Linked DNA regions of Homo sapiens: regions 1 and 2 are each linked to region 3. Evidence: promoter capture Hi-C in 16 types of primary human blood cells and fetal thymus (Javierre and others, 2016). All regions are on one chromosome and are shown on one strand. The core of a region is centred on a gene start or on the middle of the fragment in contact, and the rest is flanking DNA. Distances in the headings are between cores, read along the strand shown.

Region 1 (3,599 bases), core at 809-3,308, 1.5 Mb after region 3:
GCTATGGAAAAAGAGGAAGAAGGGAAAGGTGGAGGAGGAGAAGGGCAGGCAACTTATGAGTGACAGTTTGAGTATTGGAGACTCAGGAGTATGTTTGCAGATACAGGTAACTAGATTGAATTTAGGGCATAAAATGAAACTTATTAAAGGATTTGTTGGGGGCCTGTATTACTTTTTCTTGCTGAGATGGATGGTTAAAAAAATATATGTGTTGGGATCTAGACAAAGGGAATGCTGATGTTTGTGTGAGTATAGTGGAGCTGAGGTGTTAAGACAGAAGCATCTGACAGGCAGTGGAACCTGAAATAGAGTGATGTTTGTATCCCTGCTGTCCAACACAGTTCCTGGCACCGAAAGGCTGCTCAATAAACATTTGTTGAATGAATGTGTGAGTAATAGAGCTTAGTTCACACTTTCTGAAAAGAACCTATAATTAAATGTTTAAAAATTAATTCAACAAAAATAAAAAGTGACCTCCGCTTCCTATGTATGTAAGGGTTTTTTTTTTTTTAAGAATAAAAATGTGAAAAATAAGCAGCCAAAGGTACCTGGGTAGAAACCAGAATCTGAACTGCTGGACTATATAGTGTCAACAAAGAGTCAAACTCTGGAAAACATTTGATGAGATTTATTCTGAGCCAAATAGGAGTGACCATGGCCTGTGATACAGTCCTCAGGAGATCCTGAAAACAAGTGCCCAAGGTGGCTGCGGTGCAGCTTGGTTTTATACATTTTAGGGAGACAAGGGACTTCAGTCAAATACATGTAAGAAATATATGGGTTTGGCCCAGAAAGGTGGGACAACTCGGAGTGGGGGTGGGAGGGGGGCTTCCAGCTTATAGGTAGATTGAAAAAATTTCTGGTTGACAATTGGTTGAGTTTAAAGACCTAGGATCAATAGAAAGGAATGTTTGGGTTAAGATAAGAGGTTGTGGAGACTAAAGTTTAATCATGCAGGAAGCCTGCAGGTTCAGAAAGAATAGAATGTAAATGCTTCTTATCAGATTTAAAGGTCTGTGTTGATGTTAAAGCTGGAGAAATATAATGAGGCATGTTTGACCCCTACTTCCTGTCATGGCCAGAAAGTCACTCAGGATACATTTTTAAAGAGTGCCCTGGCCGAGGAGAAAGCACATTCAAATGGTTGAGGAACCTTGGTATTTTATTTTTGATTTACAATAGGAATGCACTGCACATTGGCCCTATTCACCATTATTTGGAATCTATGCTTATTTGATTTAGTTTCTCAATCCTTTTCCACTACCTTTCTTCCATTCCCTTCCTTCTACCCCTCTTCCTCCTTTTTCCTCTTCTCCTTACCCCTCTATTCCTTCCCTCTTTCCCATCTCCCCACTTCTCCCCCTTTTCTTCTTCATCCCTCCCCTCCCCTTCTTTATCTGTTTCTTCCTCTTCTTACTTCTTGCCTCTTGGCACTTTGAGGCAACTATCAGCAGTTCCTTATGAAGCTTGTGAGGTAGTGAATGTGGGTAGAGAAATATAGCTCGTGAGTTGCTATAGGCCAGATCTTGAAGGTCCTTGTATTGACACACTTTTTCCTTAAGTTATGGGAGGATTTTAAAGTAGAGAAGTAGTCTCCTCCGATTTGTGGTTTAAAAGATTACTCAAGTTGAGGTTGCAGTGAGCCATGATTGTGCCACTGTACTCCAGCTTGGGTCAGAGAGCAAAACCCTGTCTCAAAAACAACAAGAACAACAACAACTACAACGACGATAAAAAGAAATTTGATCGCACCTGTAATCCCAGCACCTTGGGAGGCCAAGGTGGGCAGATCCCTTGAGGCCAGGAGTTTGAGTCTGGCAACAAAGTGAGACCCAGTCTCAACAAAAACTAGTTAATTAATTAATTAAAATAAAGGATCACTTGAGCAGCTTTTAGAGAGGATGGATGGTTTGAAGGAGGGGGAAAAGGATACCAGCAGCAACAGGGAGACAGTATTTTTTTTTTGCTTGCTTTGTCGCCCAGGTTGGAGTGCAGTGGTGCGATCTTGGCTCACTGCAACCTCCGCCTCCTGAGTTCAAGCAATTCTCCTGCCTCAGCCTCCCGAGTAGCTGGGATTATAGGCGCGTGCCACCACACCTGGCTAATTTTTGTAGTTTTAGTACAGATGAGGTTTCACTATGTTGGCCAGGCTGGTATCGAACTCCTGACCTCAGGTGATTCGCCCACTTTGGCCTCCCAAAGTGCTGGGATTACAGGTGTAAGCCACTGCACCTGGCCGAGACAGTACATTTTTATAAAAGAGTGGTTTAAGGGGCCAATTTGGCTGGTGAAGCCCGGGGGCAGTAGGTGTTGGAAGACATATTTGAAAGCTGCCTTTAGAAAGCAAGCACATATTAATTACGTCAAATGTTTTGGGGGATGAGATGACTAATGAAGATCAACTCACTCACTCCCAACCCCTTTGGAGCTGCCACTGTGGGAAAATCACTTAGTAGGCTATTGTGGATATCTAGGCCAGAGATTATGATAGCTGGAACAAAAAGAGTGGCAGTAAGAATAAGAGCAGGCAGGTAGTAGAAAATAGACTGATCATGACCTGGTCTCATTGACACGTATGGAGGGCAGTGAATCTAAGGTGACTTCCTGGTTTGGGACTCAGGATCTTTCATCAGACAAGGAAAGCCAGAATGGAAGCTTGTTTGGGGGTAGTTGGTTGGAAGGAGACAAAAGATTAGCTAGTGATAGAGCGAAGGATCACTAATCAGAGTAGAATAACTTTTTTCTTGAGGCAAGGCAGTTGTGGAGAAAAGGAATCACACAGGACCTCAAGTGGAAAGTGTGGGAGCAGACAGTGTAACTGCCCAACGGGTTCACCTTGCCTGCTGCCTAGACAGAGCTGATTTATCAAGACAGGGGAATTGCAATGGAGAAAGAGTAATTCATGCAGAGCCAGCTGTGGGTGAGACTGCAGTTTTATTACTCAAATCAGTTTCGGGGGATTGAAATTTTTAACAATAATTTGGTGGGTAGGGGCTTGGGAAGTGGGGAGTGTTGACTGGTCAAGTTGGATATGGAATCATAGGGGGCTCTAAGTGAGTTTTTCTTGCTATCTTCTGTTCCTGGGTGGGATCGCAGAACTGGCTGGGCCAGATTACTGGTCTGGGTGCTGTAAGTGAAACGAGGGAAGTTCCCCTATCCCCCTTGCAGGGCATGCCACAGCGGGAGTGGCTCACTGCTTCACAACCTCTAGGGGGAGCATGCAGAGGGGCAGGCTGTGGGGCTCCGACCCCATGGCAACCTCTAGGGGTGAATATAACATTTGGGTGGGAAGGCAGGAGTGCCTATCCTCACCTAGGTCCATGGGCACAGGCCCCAGGGTGGAGCCCTAGCCACGGACCCGCCTTTCTCTGCCCAGCACTTTCCTGCCCCGCTCCTGTATCATAAGCTGGTGCATCTGAATGCAGGGTCTGCAAAACATATCAAACAGTGATCTTAGGTTTTAAAACAGTGATGTTATTCCTGGGAGCAATTTGGGGAGGTTCAGACTCTTGCAGCTGGAGGCTGCATGGCCCCTGAATTGTAATTTCTAATCTTGTAATCTTGTGGCTAATTTGTTAGTCCTGCAAAGGCCGACTGGT
Region 2 (3,711 bases), core at 723-3,222, 1.2 Mb before region 3:
CACCGCAGCCTCAACCTCCTGGGCTCAAGCAATCCTCCTACCTCAGCCTCCCAAGTAGCTGGGACTATAGGTGCACGCCACCATGCCCAGCTGATTTTTTTGTTTTGGTTTTGGTTTCTTTGAGACAGAGTTTCCCTCTGTCACCGAGGCTGAGTGCAGTGGTGTGATCTCGGCTCACTGCAACCTCCACCTCCTGGGCTCAAGCGATTCTCATGCCTCAGCCTCCCGAGTAGCTGGGATTACAGGCATGCACCACCATGCCCGGCTAATTTTTGTATTTTTAGTAGAGACAGGGTTTCGCCAGGTTGGACAGGCTGGTCTCAAACTCCTAGCCTCAAGTGATCCACCTGCCTTGGCCTCTCAAAGTGCTGGGATTACAGGCATGAGCCACCATGCCCGGCCTGATTTTTTTTTATATGTTTTGTAAAGACAGGGTTTTGCCATGTTGCCCAAGCTGGTTTTGAACTCCTGGGCTCAAGCCATCTGCCTGCCTCGGCCTCCCAAAAGTGCTGGGATTACAGGCGTGAGCCACCATGCCTGGCCTGAAAAAAATTCTTTCAAGGGGGAAGAAGAGGTAGGAATCTCTACATTTGCTGGTGGACCTCATGCCAATGGATGAATCTGTGGTATTTCCCCACTCTTTACCTCATGCCACCACTTCCACAGGTAACGTGAGGATTGCATTCTCAACATCCATTACCAAGCAGGGTGTGCGACAGAGAGACAGAGAGGCAGACCTCCCACCAGTGAGTCAGTGATGGGGCCCTTGAGGCCCTGGGCAAACCTCTTCCTTTCCCCTTTCCTTGTCATCTCCCATTGACCCCGGCTGTGCCTGAGCCTTTCCCTGTCTCCTCCAGTGAGTCCAAGTTACAGCCAGTTCCTCCCTCTTCATGAGGACTGTGTGAGCACAGGCCCTACCCTCACTTGGCTTCAGCCTCCTCATCTGCAAATGGTGAGCTCCTCATTGGCAATTTGGCAGATTGAGTTAACATGGGTTACATGGGTTTGTCACAGGGGTCGGCCCTGAGCAAGGATGGGGTTAATGTCTGCAGACATTGTCATTAGTATTTGTACCACTGGCTCCTACATGCTACACTGAGGACTTGCCCTCCCTAAGGATAAGGATCCTATGTTTTCATCTCTCTGATACCAGGGCACCTTGTTCTACCCCTGTGAGAGAAAGGACCATCCTGCCTTCCTCACAAAAATATCCTGATATATGAGCAGCTCGGAGACCTAACCTTCTGGACAAAGACCTCCCACAAAAATGTTCAAAGATCTCATGCCTTAGGACAGTGCCCACAAGCAGTTCAGAGACCTCTCACCCTAGACACCAACCACCAAACAGCTCAAAGATGCCACACCTCAGGACACAGACCCCCAACCAGCTCAGAGAATTCCTACCTCAAGGTAACAGCTCACAATAACTCAAGGACCTCACACACCAACCCACAAAGAGCTTACCAGCTACACCCTGGTACACATACCCACAAAGAATCAGCTCAGGGCTGCTGTGTGATGCTGAATCTCTGTGCCATCCAACACTGTTATGGGGAGGCCTTGGATCTTGTAGTTCCCCACAGTCTGCAGTCACCACCGTTGTTGTCATGAGGAAGGCAGGTTCACACCAGGGATGGGGAAGGACCCTCTGGGACTGAGGGGATCAGAGAGTAAGCTCTCATATCTGGCTCCCAGGAATGGCCATCGTCTGACCAACCCTGATCACCTTTGGTCCTGGTGACTTTTGTATCTTGCCCCATGGGGGCTTCAGGGTAAATCCCAGAACACAGTAGGAGACCCCTAGACCCCGTTATCTTTGCCATCTCTCAGCACCCACTGTGGGGAACTGGATCTTGGAGAGAGAGTAGAGGTCCTCCCTTCACACTGCCAATGGCAACCCCCATTATGGCCCTTCTGAGCATTCTGGTCCTTTCTCCCAAACTTCCTCTCCAATTGGCAGCTGCCACACCTCCTCTCTCTCCCCAGCTCCCCACCCTTGTGAGCCACCAGGGCTCCCCTTCCACCACGGACCTCTACCTCCCTACCCCAGCCCTAGTCATGGGGCCTCAGTTATACCCTCTCACGCCCACTTCGGTCCTCTCACCCGGCACCTAGGCCTACCTCAGAGGACCCCCTCAGGACCCTCCCTGCACTTCCTGAAAGTGCAGACCATTTTGCAGGACAGATATCTCTCCTGCCCCCACACAGGTTTCTGTCACAACATCCCTGTTAGGGCAGAACTGGAAATGTCTCCCAGATCCAGATGAAACTCCAGACCCAGACTGAGAGTCCAGGGCAATTCGCCTAGGGCTGGAGGGGGCGGGGTGGGATTCCTGAAGGAGGCGCTGGGGTGAGTGTCACCTCAGGAGATGGGAGGACACTGCCCAGCTGGGTCTGTGAGGACAGAGAAGGGACCCTGGGAGGGACAGGGGCAGCATGAGCGCTGGGAGTGTCCCAACTGCGGTCCTCCGGGAATTGTCATCTGGCCCCAGCTCTGCCCCACCCTGGTTGGAGGGCCCCAGCCAGGGATCTGCCTTCTTGGCGCTCCAGTGTCCTCATCAGCGACAGAGGTGACAGGGCTTTCTTCCAAAGGTGCTAGTGGGGATTAAATGAGATGGCACATAAGAAAGAAGTGCTTGGGACACTGCAAGTCAGATCTGTGATGACCTAAAACTTAGAGCCCTGCGCACTGAGCGCCAGATGACCCCTTGCGAGTGGTCTCACTTAAGCCCTGCCTGTGACTTGGGAAGCATCTTTAGCCTCATACTGAACAACAGTCCAAGTCTTGAAGACTGGATCCCACTGGTCATCCAGTCCTTAAAGCCCAGGCTCCGCTTTACGAACTTCCGCCCATCAGCCACTGTGCCTGACCGTGCGCGAGCGCGAAGACCCAGGGACCCGGCTCTACGAGTGCATCCCGCTGTACTCTGTAAGAGCCGCACTCTCTAGGTGAGCTTCCCAGAGCGGTCCTTGATGCCTTCCTGCCTTGATCGTCCCACAACCGATCGACTGCCCCTTTGCAGGTTCCTAATTTATTCAGATCTGTAGAACGGAGACGGGCGTGGCCAAAAATGGGACTAGAGGGGTCTCCGAGAAGTCGGAGAATGGGTGTCAGCTTGGGCCTGGGTGGAAACCAGGAGGACGGATTGCCGCCTGGGGCGCTCGCCGCCGCGCCCGCCCTACTGTCGAAAGGTGGGGCTGATTTCGTTGGTGGGCGGGGGTGGGCTTTATTGTCCCTCCACACACAGCATTTGTATTCTTACAAAATAGAAGCTCCCTTCCCCTATGGTATCTCGCATAATGGTGTGTTCATTTCCGGTACCCGCAATGGTATGTTACATCCTCCACGCCTCATCCCCAGCTGCACACTCACAGGAGGTGAGATCCAAGAGGGGCCAGCTATTTCATACTTAGGTCCTGTGGATTACTCTAATGGTTCTCAAACTTTAGTGTGCATCAAGAATCACCTAGAGAGCTTGTTAAAACACAGATTGCTGGGCCTCACCTTTCAGAGTTTCTGATTCAGTGGGTCTGGGGAGGGGCCCAAGACTTTCATTTCTTTTTTTTCTTCTTCTTCTTTCTTTCTGTTTTTGCTTTTGAGATGGAGTCTCGCTCTGTTGCCCAGGCTGCAGTGCAGTGGCCGAACTCGGCTCACTGCAACCTCCACCTCCCAGGTCAAGTGATTCTCATGCCCCAGCCTCCGGAGTAGCT
Region 3 (3,750 bases), core at 887-3,386:
TGCTGAGAACGAGTCTAGCATGACTGGACTCTAGCCACAAGCTCTATAACCACTGCAAGCTTCTCTGTTTAGGTCTTTTAGTCTCTGAGCTAAAATTTCTTTCCTCCTCATTACTCCAGCCGACACCACTTCTTAAGTGATTCCCACAATCCCCTGTTCTGTCTAACTGTAAGGACAACCCCCAAGAACCTTGGTTGGGGAAATAGGTTTGCGGTTTCTTTCTACCCAACCCTGTACTACTTTTCTTTTTCTTCTTCCTGCCCACCTCCTTTACTTCCCAAGCCTTGCTATTCTCTACACGTAGGAACTTGAAACCTAAGAGTATGGGAAAGCAACAGAGCAGCAGCAGTGGTGCCAAGAACTGGGGATGCTGCCAAGCTGTTCCCCAGGCCCCATATGCAGTGACCCAACTACATGCAGATTGGACTTAACTGCCTATGGGGCCTTGCACACTTAATATTCCTTTTTGCTTCTGCTCATTTTCTTCCTCCCACTTAAAGCAGCCTCCTCCCAAGCTTGTGACTCATTCAAATCCAATCCACCTTTGAAGACCCAGGTGAGGTCCGACTTCTTCAGGGAAGCCTCCCCTGACCACTTTAGTCCAAAGATATCCCACCACTCCCACATACAGAAAACAGGAACTGTACTTACTGTCTGGACCATAAGGCATAATCACATACACATTGCTATAATTAAATGTTTCATGTGTATACATTTAACTTTCCAAGGGCATGAGCAGTGTCTCACATGTCTTTAAAACCCTTACACTCAGTGAGTTAATACTTGCTGAACAGTGACTGAATCAGTGGGTTTTTATGTGTTTAGGCTAAGGCAGGAGGAAGAAGATGCATGTTGAAATGAAAAAGGCTGAATGGACACAGATGGGTAAAAAAGCAGCAGTGGGTGAAGACGGAAAAACAATGTAGAAGAAAGGTGTTCAGTTCACACCTGCTTAAGTGATTTACTGCGAGGTTGGAAAGAGATACAGGAGAGAGATGTCAACTGGCAAAAGCAGGGTAAAGGCATTTCAGTTTGAGGCAGAAGACACCAGGAGAAAGATGAGGCTACAAAAGAAATTCTGACTAGATTCTGCTGAAACCTAGTGGTAGGCCAATTGGATAAGGGAAGCTAAAGGGAGCTACTGGGATGACATGAGTAGAGATATGGCCATGTAGGTGAGTGAATCCGTAGGGGGTGGTATGAAGGGGGAGGTAAATGGATAAAATGGTAGAGGGTAGTTAGGCAGGTAGGTTAGCTGTTGGGCGGGTAGGTGGGTGGGTAGATGGGAGGTAGGGTAGTGGGTAAGTGGGTAGGTGGTTAGGTATTTAGTTGGGAGGGAATAGGTGTGGGGCTTATTATTTAAGATCCGGCCCCTCCCTCACCTTGACCCGGAAGCGGATGAGTGCTAGCCTCACGCAGTGGCTCAGGCAGGCCGGTGGCAGGAACCAGGCCCGCGGTGGAGGGGTGCCCTTGTTGCCCACGTGTCCCACGATCAGTTGCGCTGTCTGCCGCTCGGCCTGGCACCGACGGCCCCACTCGGCCAGCCGGTCCTTGCCCAGGCCCCCCGGGAACATGACCACGAGCTCCAGGCCGTCGCCGCCAGGATAGGCACAAGCCTGGCACAGCGCTGACAAGTAGCCCAGCATGGCGTTCCATTGGCCGCCACACACCCAATCCGTCTGGTAGCCGCCATAGAGCCGCGGCAGCGCCGAGCCGGCGTCCACCAGCACCCGGGCCCCGGGCAGCTGAGGGGGCGGCGGCGGCGGCAGCGGAGGGTGCAGCCCGGGCTGCGCTTGGCCATGATGGTGGAAGTGGTGAGCGGGGTGATGGTGCCGAGTCGGCCCCGCGCCCCCGGAGTAGGCACCCAAGGCAGCGGGCGGAAGCGGCGGTTGCAGAGGCACGGAGCCCCTGGCGGCGCGTGGAGCCCCGGGCGCTAGGGCTGCAGTCGGCGGCAGCTGGCGGTGCAAGTGCTGCTGCTGCTGCTGGCGCGAGACCGTGCGCGCGAGTTTTAGGAGGTCCACGGGCACCACGGCCCCGGGACAGCGCTTCTCCAGGAACTCTTGGAAGCCCTGGACACCCATGCTTCGTCGGTGGGCAGACGCGATAGCGGCTGCGCAAGCAGGATAGGCGACGATCTGGGCGCGAAGCTGGGGGCGGGCGCGTGCGCACTCCGCGGGGGGCGAGGGGGGGCGGGAAAAGGATTCCCGAGGGGAGGGGTGAGGAAGCGAGGGAATGAGGGCGGGGAGGGGAGGAGACCACAAATTGGATTTGGGTAGAGAGAAGGGGAGGGGCAGACCGGACCCGGGAGAGGCTGGGAGGATAAAAGCGAGGATGGGCTCTAGTCACTTCTCTTTTTTCTCCTTTCCGGCCGCTCTTCTTCCCGCTTTAGAAGGGGTGAAGCCTCTTTCTTCCACCTCCGGGAGCCATGTTGCCTCGTCTTCTCGGTGGTACACGCTTTCTAGCTGGAGGAAGGGGAGCGAGGAGGGGCGGGGCGGGGCGGGGAGAGGGGCATCTTGGTAGTTGTAGTCTTCTCTATGGCCTTAGGATATAGTCGAGGAACCAGACTACCACCCTTCTCAGCCCTTGTGCTCACAGGGTCACAGGAAGCGGGGCGTGATGATGAGTGTTTAGGAGTTGCACTCCAACTCCTTGCATCTCACTGAGTTGCTTAGGTTATTTACTGCTTTTTCCTGGAAAAAGAGTTTTGGGGGATGGATTGATGCATCATGGGAATGGAAGTTAGAGTGGATTGACTGAATTCAGCTAAAGTGAGCTAAAACTCCCCAGGAGGGAGGATTTTCCCCTTAGTGGAAAGATAATATTTAAAGAGCTGTTGGTCCCAATTAAGAAAGACGTAACTGGTCGGGCGCGGTGGCTCACGCCTGTAATCCCTCCGAGGCGGGCAGATCACGAGGTTAGGAGATCGAGACCATCCTGGCCAACATGGTGAAACCCCGTCTCTACTAAAAATACAAAAAGTAGCCGGGCGTGGTGGCACGTGCCTGTAATCCCAGCTACTGGGGAAGCTGAGGCAGGAGAATCGCTTGAACCTGGGAGGCGGAGGTTGCAGTGAGCCAAAATCATGTCACCGTACTCCAGCCTGGTGACAGAGCCAGACTCCGTCTCAAAAATAAATAAATAAATAAAAAGAAACTTACATTATTTACTTGCCTAAGGCAATGCAGAGACAAAGTTAAATCGAATATCCTTGCCCTCAGCATCTCTTTGGGCAGGGAGATAATTACCAACACAAATTACATTACAAATTGTACCTTTTTGGTACTCCTAGATCCACTATGTCCTATGGTTAGGGCCTTTGGTTTCCAAACTTCATTGTGTTTTAGTCTGTCGGGAGCTTTTCTAAATAGCTGCAAGGGCTCTAATTTCAGATGTATGGAGTCATAATCTTTTGAAAAATGTATTTTCAACATACTGAGATGAAACAGATGCAGTGCCTGTCTTCTTTCTGGCTTTTAGGGCCGGCCCACTCTTTCAGCAGGAATAAAGCAGAAAACAAGATCTGAAATGAGTAGTAGCCAGATCTGGCTTGGAACTTACTGGAAGATGGGAGATAATGGCAGGCAGAGTTAGAATGCAGAAGTGCAGAACCCAAGAGTGATCGGGATGAATGAGATAGGGGAATACTCTATTAGGATGCAAAAGCAAAAAAGCTTCAAGCTACATAAAAGAAATTATAAAATAGTGGAGATGGAACAAGCCAGATTGTCAAAGAATAAGTAGATGGCAAGG

The links. The method cuts DNA at HindIII sites, captures the fragments that hold promoters and counts their contacts. A CHiCAGO score of 5 or more calls a contact.
Region 1: a contact is called between a fragment that was not itself captured here and the fragment with the promoter of FAM120C in region 3, in 1 of 17 cell types (fetal thymus). The highest score is 6.9, in fetal thymus.
Region 2: a contact is called between a fragment that was not itself captured here and the fragment with the promoter of FAM120C in region 3, in 4 of 17 cell types (total B cells, fetal thymus, naive CD8 T cells and 1 more). The highest score is 9.1, in total B cells.

The regions. Positions count from the first base shown.
Region 1 is chrX:55,712,811-55,716,409 of GRCh38, forward strand. No RefSeq gene overlaps it. Among named protein-coding and RNA genes, the nearest start is that of RRAGB, 3.1 kb to the right of the region's middle. The HindIII fragment of the contact is 1,189 bases long and covers 1,465-2,653 here.
Region 2 is chrX:52,997,698-53,001,408 of GRCh38, forward strand. No RefSeq gene overlaps it. Among named protein-coding and RNA genes, the nearest start is that of FAM156A, 41 kb to the left of the region's middle. The HindIII fragment of the contact is 8,235 bases long and covers 1-3,711 here.
Region 3 is chrX:54,181,118-54,184,867 of GRCh38, forward strand. FAM120C (family with sequence similarity 120 member C) reads right to left here and starts at 2,137. Exons shown (of 16, transcript NM_017848.6): 1 at 1,383-2,137. The coding sequence starts at 2,081. RefSeq lists silencers at 1,630-1,679, 1,690-1,899, 2,470-2,569. The HindIII fragment of the contact is 3,156 bases long and covers 514-3,669 here.